Regions from separate parts of the Homo sapiens genome. Here region 1 is linked to region 2. The links are contacts of gene promoters, found by promoter capture Hi-C in human tissues and cell types (Jung and others, 2019). All regions are on one chromosome and are shown on one strand. Each heading gives the region's core, a stretch centred on a gene start or on the middle of the fragment in contact. The rest is flanking DNA. Distances are from core to core; before and after follow the strand shown.

Evidence for each region. Contacts are between HindIII fragments. The study calls those that stand out against the background at their distance.
Region 1: a fragment that was not itself captured here is called in contact with the fragment with the promoter of ST8SIA5 in region 2 in 1 of the 25 tissues and cell types used here (dorsolateral prefrontal cortex).

What each region holds. Positions count from the first base shown.
Region 1 is chr18:46,284,494-46,291,573 of GRCh38, forward strand. No RefSeq gene overlaps it. Among named protein-coding and RNA genes, the nearest start is that of ARK2C, 46 kb to the right of the region's middle. The HindIII fragment of the contact is 4,538 bases long and covers 1-3,726 here.
Region 2 is chr18:46,754,525-46,761,355 of GRCh38, forward strand. It overlaps ST8SIA5 (ST8 alpha-N-acetyl-neuraminide alpha-2,8-sialyltransferase 5), which reads right to left and starts at 2,529. Exons shown (of 7, transcript NM_013305.6): 1 at 1,854-2,529. The coding sequence starts at 1,984. ST8SIA5-DT (ST8SIA5 divergent transcript) reads left to right here and starts at 2,919. Exons shown (of 3, transcript XR_001753434.3): 1 at 2,919-3,935; 2 at 4,273-5,742. RefSeq lists a silencer at 2,112-2,501. The HindIII fragment of the contact is 8,707 bases long and covers 1-6,067 here.

The DNA.
Region 1 (7,080 bases), core at 208-2,707, 470 kb before region 2:
AAACTTTACACACACACATATATATTCAAAAGTATGATACAGTGCTAAGTGATACACGTGATGAAGCATTGTGAAGTCCTTGAGCGTGGTGTCTGGCATAGAGCAAGCTCCCAGTATGTGGCAGCTATTACTACTGCTGTTGTTTCATTCTGGTTCTGAATAATTACCACAATTGCAGGAAGGGAGAGTCCACCGAGTGGTCCTGAATGGCCGGAGAAGGAGACAGGACTTTTAGGATGAGTTCAGAAAGAGAGGAAGGACCAACCAGCCAGAGGGAGCAAAATGTCCCGATTTCCAAAAAGTGAAGAACATGATTCCTGGGATGTAAGCTTAACGACACTCAGTAGCATTCTAGAATTATTAAACAGGTGGTTTGGGAGCACTTTGCGAAGAACTGTGCCCATCCTGGAATTAACTCATTAAAATCATGTCAAATCAAACTCCCAGGGACTTGCGTTATCAAATAATTTTGTTTTCTTTTTCTTTCTTTTCTTCCTTTTTTTTTTTTTTCTTTTTTTGAGATAGGATCTTGCTCTGTCACACAGGCTGGAGTGCAGTGGCACAATCATGGCTCACTGCAGCCTTGCCTTCTTGAGCTCAAGCAATCCTCCAGTGTCAGCCTCCCAAGTAGCTGGAACCATAGGTGCACACCACTATGCCCGGCTAATTTTTTTCTTGTGTGTGTGTGTGCGTGTGTGTGTATTTTGTGTAGAGACAGGGTTTTGCTGTGTTGCCCAGGCTGGTCTCAAACTCCTGGGCTCAGGTGACCCACTTGTCCTCTCAATGTGTTGGGATTACAGGCATGAGCCACCGTGCTCAGCCAATAATTTTTTTTCATTCACGTCACATATTTATTGTCAGCATCATAGGAAATGCAAAGGGTATCATCACAAGGCACTGAACGAAGTCTCCCATGCTCTCTGTGTGGTCATGAGAAAGTGATGTGTGAACAGGGGGATGTCCCGTTAGGCGAAGTCCATGACAGTGGAAGCCAAGGGGCTCTAATCCAGTCACTGGAGGGTCAGAGGAGCACCCTGACCCTCTCTCTGATGGGGAGGGATGGCACATTAGAGAATGTCAGTGGCTCTGGAGGCGCCAGCCATTTAAGAGTGAAAAGCAATAGCAGGACAACAGAGAAGTAACATCATACATGAAATTATTCTTTGTAATAATGGCAGTAATATACATTCATGGTAAGAAATTGGGAAAATACAGAAGATTGTAAAGAAGTAACTAAAAGACACCTACAATTCTAACTGAATGGCATGATTTAATAACACGGCTGACAAGAATTACCGGCAGAGTGGAATTTAGGTAATATAGAAGATGGCAAGGGGTTCAGAATTGTTGAACCTAGAAAAGGGGTCATGCTCTCAGTTTTTGAGGAGTCAACAGGCTGTCAGGAAGAATCTGTAGTCTATCGGGTACCATTCAAGGGGGCATGAGTAGAACACAGAGGCTCAGAGAGGCCAATTTCAGCTCATGGACAATGGGAAGAGCGTTCCAGGAAGAAATTCTCCCTCAGGGGTCAGGCTGCCTTGGGAGGGAGGGGAGTGCCCATTCCTGGGAGTATTCAGTGGAAGCTAGTTCTTGTGTCACTTTCTTCTCTGAATGTTACTGAAGATTCCCTGCCCTTCTCTGGCTCCTTTCAATGCTAAGATTGTATATCTATAGGTGAAGACATGGAGGCAGAAATAAATGTGTTTAGTTATCGCTAAGGGAAATAAACATGATGCAAAACAGTGTGCTCTCAATTTTGTTGGAAGAATATAGTTAAATTCATTGAAAAGAGATGGCAAAGAAGTGAATATTAATGCTTGGACTGTGGGAGATGTTTTCACCTTTGGATTGTTTTGATTTTTCCAACTTTTCTACAGTTGACTTATTTTAAAACCCAGTAATGTATCTGCTACATGTGTGAAGTACTTTCTCTACTGAAACAATAGATTAGGGCAGGGGCAGGAGGGAGTTTTTTTGTAGGTATGTACATAGGGTGGGATGGATTGCAGAGGGCCTTGAAAGTCAGGCAGGACTGTTTAGATTTGAAGGTCACTATAGTGGCAATGAAAATGACTTTATTTGCTAAACCAAACTCAGGACTGATAATCTAACAAACAATAGCATGTTAATGGGGATAAGAGGACAGAATACAGTATTTGAAATTGCAAAACTCTCTGAAAAATCATGTCTTAGCTTGGGTTGCCATAACAGAATACCATAGATTGGGTAGCTTAAATAAAAGAAATTAATTTTCTTACAGTTCTGGAGGCTGGAAAGTCAAGATCAAAGTCCATCAGAGTTCAGGTTCTGGTGAGAGCTCTCCTCCTGGGCTGCAGACGACTACCTTTCCATTTTGTCCCGACTGGTAGAGAGAGGGAACGCCATACTCTCTTCCTTTTCTTATAAGGACACCAATTTCATCATAGGGTCCACACCCTCATGACCCCATCTAAACCTAATTGCCTCTGAAAGTCCCCATCTCTAAATACTATGACCTTGGGGCTTAGGGCTTCAACATATGAATTTCAGGAGGACACACACATTCAGTCCATAACGATCAGTATTACAATTGGGAGCCTCATGGGATTCTTAAGATAGTGACATTCATTTGCTTATTCATTCATTTAGCTTAGTAACATTTATGAAGCCCTAGCTATGTGCTAGACGCTGATGTGCATATGATGTAATTAGGTCTTGTGGGAGCTGAGTATGGGACACCCTGGAAGATGAAAGTTAAATTCATCAGGTCAGTTAGCAGGTCCCTGAAAATCTGGGTGAGGGATCTAAGTCTCAGGAACAGGAGTGGTGAGGATAGGAATTCTGGTGATATTTAAAGAAAGCCTTTGCTTGCTTCGCAGTTGCGCTAAGGGTTCTTTTCATTACCCTGAACAGGGTAGGGTAAACAGTAGGCACTCAACATACATTAGGTAAGTAATGGGAATGTTTCTGTGGGTAGAAGGGCTTGAACTGAACCTCAAATGAAGAATAATTATTAATCAACATTTTGTTGCAATAAACATACCCTGAATTCTTACCGTATGCCAGCTATATTGCTTAATGCTAAAGCTACAAGGAAGAGACGTAGCCATCACCCCAGAGGCATCCACAAAACGACAGTCTGAGAGGAGAGACACAAATGTAAGCAATGAAAGCACTTAGAACAGACTAATGTAATGTGAACTGTGAGCCCAGATAGAGGTACAATTATTCTAGTCTGTAGGGGTCAAGGAAGACACCAGAGAGGAGGTGACATCTGAATTGGGCACACGGAGAATTCTCTGGGATGGTCCATGGGTGGGATGGATGGTGGAAATCATTCCCAGCAGATGGAAAAACAAGGTCTACGATATGGTGGCGAAACGATGGCATGGTCCTTCTCAGTCTACTTTGTGTTTGCATTTATTTCCAGCATTCCTTAAAAGCTGGTTGGGGGCTGGGTGCCTGTAATCCCAGCTCCTTGGGAGGCTGAGGCAGGAGGACTGCTTGAGCCCAGGAGTTTGAGACCACTCTGAGCAACATACGGAGATCTCATCTTTATAAAAAATAAAAAATTAGCCGGGGCATGGTGGCACATACTTGTGGTCCCAGCTACTCAGGAGGCTGAGGTGCGAGGATGGCTTGATCCTGGGATGTTAAGGCTGCAGTGAGCCGTGATCATGCCACTGCACTCCAGCCTGGGCGACAGAGTGAGACTCCGTCTCAAAAAAAAAAAAAAAAAAAAAAGAAACAAAAAACAAAAATGCTGGTTGCACATCTGTAGGGCTGTCAGCCCAACTAATCTTTATCCCTTCTGAAAACTGCTCCATCCCAGTCTACATAATTACAGCAAGAAGAGTTATGAGGACATACCTGTCTGTCAGGCCAGAGTTGACTGGTCCAGGGATGGAATCCTGACCAAACTGGGATGTTCAGAGTCCCTCCAGGGAATTTGGAACTGGGACACTAGATCACTGGCTGGCATCAGTCTCAGTGATCTCTTGCAGTCACTGTAAATTTGAGAGCTGCGGGTCTAATATCCTATCTTGTGAATTGGGCATCAAAGAGGGCCAGGTCCCGGTGAGGAAGAAATGAGATAGGTATGCCAAGAAGGGCCAAGATGAGACATACTGGGAGGGGACTGTCTGCATGTCCTCCAGTGGTCTAGCCCCTGGCTACAGCCCACTTCTGAAGTCCTGTTGTGGGGTCCGTGGGAGATGGACTGAGCAAAAGTGAGGTGAAGGGTAACATGCATTCTCACATCCTGGAGGGTCTGGCAGTAAAGACATCACTGAAACCGTGGCTCTTTTCAGACTCAGGCTATGTACCCACCCAGTGTTAGGGAATTTAACAGTGAAAGAGCACTATGTTTTACATCAGTGTATTTTAGAGAAATACACTATATGAATGTATTTCTAATATGTGTAGGTGTTAAAAGGTGGAGATAAAAACTTTAAGCCAGGGCAGAAAGTAGATAGAGAATAATAAATATGCCATGATGTAATGAATCCTTTCTGCCAAAAGCCACTCATCTGAGATGGCTGAAGGATCAGAAATCCATTTGCCTTGATCAATTACAGGAGCAAAATTCTGACACAGCCTATTTCTCTCTCTCTTTTTTTTTTTAAGGGACGGGGTCTTGCTCTGTTGCCCTGGGTGGAGTGCAGTGGTATGATCATAGCTCAGTGCCGCCTTGTACTCCTGGGCCCAGGCGATCTTCTTGCCTCAACCTCCCCAGTAATATGATGACAGATGCTTACTACAGTGCCTGGCTATTTTTTTTTTTTTAATTCTTAATTCAGACGGGGATCTCACTATATTGCCCATGCTGGTCTCAAACTCTTGGCCTCAAGCAGTTCTCCTGCCTCAGCCTCCCAAAGTGCTGGGATGAGCCACTATGCCTGGCATCATTTCTAAATCTGATTTTAGTTTGTGGATTATGTCTCCTCGTTGACTGGAATGGGGATATCAGGGAAGAGTGAGTGGTATCAGGGAAAACAGATCTCTGGAGCCTTCCCAAATATTTCTTGCTATGCAGCCGCTGTGTTTGCTATCGCCAGGAAAGGTTTTGATGCCTCTCAAGTCACAGCCAGATAACTGAAAGAGAGTCCTGGCATAGGGTTCCTACTCCCCTCCCCACAGCCTAAGAGTTCTGTCTACACACTCCTAGAGCACCATCCTTTCTGGGTCATGGAGTTTATTTCACCATGGTGTCAATTTACTTGTCTGTTCCCTTCACACACTCTTTCTGGCCAGAGCTGTATCCCCAGTGAAAAATGTAGTGCCCAGTACATAACAGGACTTGGTAAGTATTTGTCAAATGAATGAATGCAAAGCAAATTAGTGGGGAGAGAGCGTAGAGTCAAGACCAGTGAGAAGGCAGATGTAGTAATCTTAGAGATCATAGGAGTGTTTAGGGGGTGGGGACAGAATGAAGGGAGAGCACATTTCTACTGAGTAGGTGGCCCTCGAGGCTGCCTGAGTAGGGGCTCACACACCACTCAGTGCCACTGACCACTGAGGAATAGCAGGAAGCAAGTGGCCCAGACACTGACCTGGCACCTTCCCCAGCTGCCTGACCTGCAGACCAGGACAGACAATTTGGGGCATTTTTCATTCCTTATGATCAGACGACTCCTCGAGAGGCATTTAGCAAGAACAGGCCACCCCCAGCTCCCATCGTACCCACTGGCTGATTTGCAGTGTTGCTTTTCTCAGGGAGTCACTCCCCACATCTCCAGGACCCCTCTTTGCTGGGGTCATTCAGAACCTGCCTCTCTGGCTGGGTGCAATGGTTCATGCCTGTAATCCCAACACTTTGGAAGGCTGAGGTGGGAGGATTGCTTGAGGCCAGCAGTTCAAGAACAGCATGGGTGACATAGTGAGACCTTGTCTCTACAAAAAATAAAAAGATGGGTGTGATGGCGCACACTTGTAGTTCTAGCTACTTGGGAGGCGGAGGCGAGAGGATCCCTTGAGCCCAGGAGTTCAAGTTTACGGTGGGCTATGATTGCACCTCTGCACTCCAGTCTGGGCGACAAAGCCAGATCCCATCTCTATTAAAAAGCAAAAGAACCTGCCTCTCTTCTCCCACTGTCCCTCAGAGGCAGCCAGCGGGGGGCCTACATCTGCACACAGGGTCTTCTGCCCGGAGTGCCATCTCCTGGCTGCTCTGAGCCTTCCAGGCCCAGCTCAGTGCCATCGCCTCCAGGAGCTTTTCTCCTCAGAGCACCCTTGCCATACCCGCCGACTCTTGTCACCTTTGGTACCTGCACAGGGATCTGCAGCTCACAGTGTGCTTTCCCAGCCGCTATCTCAAAAAAGGTCTCATCCATGCTCATTTTGCAGCACAGCACACAGGCCTGGGGAGGTCATGTGGCAGAGCTGGACCAGACCCAGGACTCCTGAAGCCAAGTTCATTGAACTTTCCACCCTTAGCACCTTGCTGGACACACTCATCCCCTCCACTAAGAAACACCTAACAATGGAGCCTGGATATTAGTTTCTTAGTCCTTCCTCCACACCACGCCCAGGATGATATTTTGTGCCAGGTGGTCAAGTGGTCAGAATGTTTGCTGAATTGAAGGTGGGAGGCAGAGGTTAAACCCACCTCAGACTGGAGGCTCCCCACCTGGAGAGGTTGCACCAGGAGAGGCCCTAGCACGGTGTGCACATGGCCATCTGGTTTGGTAAATTTGACTAAGATAGTTTTAAATGGCACTGGTTCAGTCCATTGTCCCTTTCCTCTGCTGCCCCCTGTCACACTTCCTCTTATGACAGATGGTGTTGGGGTGGCTCTGGGTATTTGGGGATCTGGCTAAGGGGAAGTGGAGTTGGAGGTACATTGAGTTAGGGTTAAGTGGGGTTCTCTTACGTGGCTCACAGCCACTTCCGTGTATATTTTGCTTCTTGCTAGTCATCCTAGTGTAGAAATGGCTTCTCAGGCGACTCCTGCGGCTCACTACTGACTCCTCCAATGCCATGACATGAAGGCTTAGGGCCAGCAGCTGTTTGCAATATGAGTGTGTCTGGTGAGGCTGGACTGTGGTATATGTGGGTAGTGTTGGAGAAGTAAGGTTTGAAATGAAAGAGCCAGAAGCTGGT
Region 2 (6,831 bases), core at 1,279-3,778:
CTTCCAGGATCAGCCCTATACAAGTTTTGCCTGGTTGATTGGGTTGAGTCTCTAGAGTGAGGCCTGCAAGATAGCATCTATGCGATTCAGGGGGTCAGGGTCTCTGTGAGGGAGGAAGGGAAGCACCTTGTGTGCCTGCTGAACTCCTGGCAGCTAGCCCACCCACCCAAGACCAGGGAGGACTTGCCAGAGCAAGCAGGTAGTTTGGTTGGCGTTTGCCATGGGCGGTTGTATTTTCCCCCTGTTGACAAGGCAGAAGGAATCCCAGCAGCCCCAGCAACTTTGGGGAGGTGCCGGGAGGGGGCAGGAACCCAGAGCTGCCCTGCTGAAGAGCAAGTGCCAAGACAGCAGCAGGCAATCGGCCTGCAGGGCCGCAGCAAGCTGTGGGGGACCCAGCTGTCCTTGCATAGGATCATCTCAGGGGCAGCAGTAGCCAAAACAAGAGGCAGGCCCAATCAGATCCAAGAAGCCAGGAGACTCCGAAGATGGCCTTTAAAGCCACCAGTGTCAGACAGCACTCAGGAGCTGCCACCAACCAGGGAACGCTCCCTGGGAAGGTCCGGAGCAGCAACTGGCTGTAAACAAATGTTCAGAACAAGGTGCCTCATTACTCCCCAGCTCCGGGGGAGTTACAAGGAGGGGAAACAGCCTAAGTGCTCGGCTTTTCCACTGGACAGCGACACCTAGCAGCGATCCTCACCCTCCCACCTTCGTGGGCAGCCCAGATTGGGAGCACCCATACCTGATGTATCCACCTCACCCAAAGGATGAGAAGAGGGCTGTTTCGTTATGGGGAAGTTTAGAGAAGAAGGTGGGATGCTTACTTAGCTAGAGAGACATTTATTTTCCTATCAACCTAGGGGAGGGGCGGTGAGAGTAGGGAGACACTAGCAGCAAACTAAAAAACAGCCCAGCAGCTAGGAGAGAGGGCTCTTGCCAAGAGAGGCTCTGATATGGGTGTATCCTAGAGCAAGAACCTCCCCTAATCTCTCAAACCAGGCGGAGGAACCCCAAGTGTTTCCTTAAGCCAGCAGAGCCGGCAGAAGGAAGTGGCTGGCATTTCAGTGTATCTTCTGCAAATAGAGAGGCTGAGGCTGTGCCCGAATTGAATTTCTGAGTGACACCTCCTACTGCTCTTTCTCTTGGAGTTTAACCGTGGATTGGGGTGGAGTAGGGGGAGAGCCCAACGAGGGGTTAACTTATGCTGCAGCTCTGACCTTTTGCGCTAAGGATGAGAAAAAAAAAGCCATCTGTTTCAGAAGGAATCAGGTTGTTGAGTTTCACAGATCCAGTGGCTGTGGGATTGTAAGACTTCACTATCACTATCCCTGTCGCATAGCCACAGCCCACACTACCACCCCCACCGAACCCGAAGCTCCTGGAGGGGAAAATGCTTTTTCTCCCAAGGGTCCTTACGAAAGTTCAGGACTCGCGAGGTTATAAACAAACAAACAAACAAACAAACAATCGATACGATTTTGAGCCCTCCGACCCCGGAGTCCAAACAAATGGCCATAGAACTGTGGGTCTGGAGGACACCGCTCCGATCCATGCGGTCTCTCCGGGTATTAAATGGATTTATCGTCAGCCTGGTTGCTTGGAATTCTATTCTGTCCTTCATTTTTCACAGCGGAACAAAGTTGTCTGGACCCTCCAGCCAGCGCTGGGCAGAAGCAAGCAAGGATGCTCTTGGAAACGCGGTGGCCCAAGCCTAAGCGGCCATGCTCGGGGCTAGGAGCGGACCCCACGGCCACTCACCCCGGGGCGCTGCGACCGAAGCTGCCGCGGCCACTGCCACCCGGGGGCTCGCCGGCCGGCTCCGCGCATCCCGCCCTCTCAATGGACTTTCTTACCTCTTAATGTAGTTCCTGCCATACAGGATCTGTTGCAGCAAGGTCACCAAGGCAAAGGCGCAGATGAAGATGAAGAGCAAAGTTCGGCTCCCCAACAAATCCCGGTTGGCCGAGGGGTCCGCGTAGCGCATCCTGGCTACCGGGCGCCGCGGGCGCGGGGTACGGGGCGGCCAGGCAATGACTCGCGGGGTTCCGGGGCCCCGGGGGGCGCGCGGCCGACTTGGCGCCTCACGGTGCGGTCAGGCAGGCGGGGGACTTCGAGGGGCAAAGTTTCTGGTTGGCGCGGCCGGAGCTGGGGGCATCCAAGCGTCGCAGGCGCTGGGGCGGCAAGCAGGACAGGGCCGGTGGCAGGGAGCTCTGCCGCGGCCAGGGGCCTTCCCCACCCCCGGGTACCTTTACCTCCAGGCGCCGGTGCCGGGTAGCCGCCGATTTCCCCGCGGAGGGGAGACGCCAGGTGCCACGAGCCGGAGGCGGCCCCTCCCGCCGAGGTGGCGGCCAATGGGGAGCAAGACCCGGGCTCCGTCCCCTGTGCGCCCCAGCGCGCCGCGCATCGACCCCTCCAGTCCGGCGCCGGATCGCGGTTGCCCAGCGCGCTGTGCCCTGCCGGGGGCGGGCCACGTTTGATCTCCGGGCCCGCAGCAAGGGATCGCGAAGGTTGGCCTCCGGTTCTGCCGATAGGGACGGGGGGAGGGGGCGTACAAAACACCCGCGCAGTCTGGCTAATGATAGGCGGGCCGTGGGGAGGGGGAGGGGCGGAGCGCAAAACGCCGGGTTTGAATCTTGGAATTAAAAAGAGGGCAGGGGCTGGGCGCGGTGGCTCACTCCTGTAATCCCAGCACTTTGGGAGGCCGAGGCGGGCGGATCACAAGGTCAGGAGTTCAAGACCAGCCTGGCCAATATGGCGAAAACCCGTATCTACTAAAAATACAAAAAACAAAATTAGCCAGGCGTGGTGGCACGCGCCTGTAGTCCCAGCTACTTGGGAGACTGAGGCAGAAGAATCGCTTGAACCTGGGAGGCGGAGGTTGCAGTGAGCCGGGATCGCGCCACTGCACTCCAGCCTGGGCGACAGAGCGAGACTCCGTCTCAAAAAGAAAAAAAAAGAAAAAAAAGAGGGCAGGAAGAGGAAACAACAGTTGCGGAGCTGGACTTGATGGAAGGGAGCATTTGCGTGCGGCGCGCAGGGCACTGAGTCACCATCGTGGCCGCGTCCTCGCGCTCTCCTAGCGATTTCTCCGGAGAAAGCGGAGCAAGGTCAGCCGGGCAGCCCTTCAAGGACGGCGCGCCGCTCCTGCATGCTGATGGCCTGCGGGGCTGCCTGCCCGTGCCCCGGCGCCCAACTCCTACAAGGAAGAAATTCAGGGGCTCCCCGCCCCCGCCACAGTCCTCTTCCCCCTCCCCAGCTGCAACTCGGCAGCCGTTCGTCAAAGACCCTGTTGTCACCGAGACACTGGGACCTTGTCTCATCCTTGGAACCACTCGTAAATCTTAGGTCAGGCAGCCGGCAGCCTTCGGGGACCACAGTCCCCCCAAAGCTTTAGGAAGCCAGTTACTACATCCGGAAAGATTCGTGCTTCAGAACGCAAGCCAGGGAGAATAATCACAGAAACGCAATGCGAATGTCGTGCCTCTCAGAAATTCTTAGCCTGAAATACCGTCCCCACCCCCCAACCCGGCCAGGCGACAGTCCTGTCATCCTAACACCGCAGAGGCTCCAAGCGCTGGGAGTCGTGTGCCCGCGGCGCTCGCCACTGAGGCCGGTTGGAAGATTCTAGGGTGCCCCTTCCCAGGTTCCAGCAGGCACTCCGGGATGTTCTAGAGTCAGGCCAGGGATTCAACAGCGAACCTGACCGAAACTCAAACCTCAGCACAAGAACTTTGATGGGGGAAGTGCCCAGACTCCAATACTCTCGACCTTGGCATTTAGTAGTTTCTTCTTTGAACTGGAAAGATCAAATAATGCACAGTAAAATCTCATGATAAGGGTTCCACCAAGAATTCGGGATTTGTGTTAATTCATAAGGCAGAAGTGGCCCCTGTGCTATCCATGAAGAGTTTCTGTATTTCTCTGCAAGGTCACAGGTAGGCTTTTTTTTTTTTTTTTTTTTTTTTTTTTTTTTTTTTTTTGAGACGGAGTCTCGCTCTGTCGCCCAGGCCGGACTGCGGACTGCAGTGGCGCAATCTCGGCTCACTGCAAGCTCCGCTTCCCGGGTTCACGCCATTCTCCTGCCTCAGCCTCCCGAGTAGCTGGGACTACAGGCGCCCGCCACCGCGCCCGGCTAATTTTTTGTATTTTTAGTAGAGACGGGGTTTCACCTTGTTAGCCAGGATGGTCTCGATCTCCTGACCTCATGATCCACCCGCCTCGGCCTCCCAAAGTGCTGGGATTACAGGCGTGAGCCACCGCGCCCGGCCACAGGTAGGCTTTTTAACCAATTAAAGAAAAACTCCAACATTTAGAGGGCCCATTATTATAATAATTCCTGTATTTGTTTGCTGTCTGGCACATAAAAACGTGCTTCACTTGCATATATTAATGAATTTTCACCTCCTAGCCCCTGGCTAACCCATTTTACAGCTGAAAGGACTAAAGCAACAGATGCCCAAAGTAACTCACCTAGCAACAAGTCTTGGGATTCTGAGATGAGGTTCTTTCTCCCACACACACAGGCAGGCTGGCTTCTTGGGAGTGGGACTTGTTCATTTGTCCCCACCACCACCATTGATTTTGACTGATTGCTCCACTCTTGCTGTCTTCAAACTTTTGAACAAGGGGGTTTGCATTTCTCTTTGCACTGGGCCAAATTATGAGGTAGGTCCTACACACAGGCTCCAAGATGACAGTACTAATTTTTCACTAATTTTTCTCTACTTGGTGCTCAAGTGTAGAGTTTGAGGGGTACTATCATCTTCACTCCAGGCAAGGCACTGTTGTTTCTTTTGTATTCCTGCTTATTCTCCACCCCATCAGGTGCTCACTCTGATACCTGTCTTTGAGTGCTGTTTTCTTGGAAAAACAAATCTATTTTCAAGAAATGAATCAAAATTATCCTAAGAACTTTTTAATTGCAATATAATGCATTTACAGAAAAGTACACAAATCATAAATGTTCAGGTCGCTGTGTTTTCACAAGCTGAACACACCCATGTAACCAGTACACAGATCAATTATCGGCCCCCAGGAGTCCCCTCATGTTCCTATCTGGTTACTATGTACTCAAGAGTAACCACTGTTCTGAATCCTAACCCCAAAGATCAGTGCTTCCTGTTTTGTGTTTTATATAAATGCAATTATACATTATATATTATTTTGTGTCTGCCTTCTTTTGCTTAACGTTGCTATGAGATTTATCCATGCTGTTGCATGTGGTGGGCAGAATTACAAGAAGACCCCCAAGATTCCTCACCCCTTCTTGTATGCACATTCCCATAGGTATTGATCTAGGCGCTGCTGTGAAGGGAATTTGCAGATGTAATTGGCCTAAATCAGTTGGCTTTAATATCAGGAAATTGTCCTCAGTGGGCATGGCCATATGGAGCCCTTACAAGGGACTGGGCTCTTCCTGGTGAAAAAGATTTGAATCACGAGAGTGGCTGATATGAGGGAAATTCTTTGCTGTTGCCTTCGAAGACAGAAGAGGTCCACAAGGCAAAGGATGCAGACAGCCTGTAGGAGCTGAGACTGGCTCCTGGCTGACAGCCAGCAAGGAAATGAGGACCTCAGTCCTCCAATCATGAAGCAGACTCCGACTTCTGCTAACAACCTGAATACACTTCAAAGAGGATTCTGAGCTCCAGCCGCCTACACATTGATTTCAGCTGTTGGGACCCTCAGCCGAGAACCCAGCTATGCCGTGCCCAGATGTAAGACCTACACATCTGTGAGCTTGTAAGTGTGTGTTGCTTTAAGCCACTAAGTTTGTGGTAATATGTTTCACTGCAATATGAAACTAATACTTCTGTGTGCAGTTATAGTTTGTTCAATCTTATTGCTATATAGTATGCCATCAAACGACTGTGGCACAACTTATCCATTCTACAGCTGATGGACATCTGGGTAGTTGCTGCCATCAGCCTTCCAGTGCATGGTTTTTTGGGTGAAAACATGCATGCATATCTGCTGGGTATCTATTTCTAGAAGTAAAATTGCTAGGTCAGAGAGTATACATATGTTCAGCTTTAGCAATTACTGCCAAAGTTTTTCCAAAGGGAAAATTATTTTTAATAGGTATTTTATCCAGATTTGCCACGACCTAATAAGGAATTCGTCCCCACAATAAAACTAACTGGCTAACCTAATAGCAAAAAGCCCACCCAATCAAGAGCCAAGATAGTTGAGGGACAACAACAGCTCCAAAGGCACCCACTCTCCCTTGAGGAGGTACTCAACAGTTAGGTCTCCTGCATGAATTGGCAGTGAATGAGATTGATGCTGGCATTAGGAATAGCTAGAACTTTGCAGCAAGACTCTATGTAGAATAGATTTTGGTCACTTGATCCTCTGCACATGATCAGCAATAGTCCAGTGGTCTCTGCTGACACTGCTCTTCTAATCCTAATGGCATTTTAATTCTGACTATCTTCATATCAGAGGTATCTTTAACACACACACAAACACCTCACAGGCATCTCTAGTGAAGCTGGAGACCTAAGATCTCAAAACATGGAGGTCTGAAGTCCCTTTTGTTCCTATCAGTATGGAGCTAGATTCCATTTTAAGCCAAATTTATATTCTGATTGTAGAATTGCAGCAAACACTCAGAAGGCCTTGCAAACAAAAGAGTAAACACATGGATAAATGATCACTATGCCAGATTCAGTGAACACCATTTTTATATTCTAATTGCCAGGAATGGGGACAGCTGCATCATTGTTTAAAACACACACTCATGCACAATTAAGCCAGAACAAATGTCAACACTGGCACCATCTGCTAAATTACTGATAACTGATGAGCATTACTCATGCTGTGAGCATT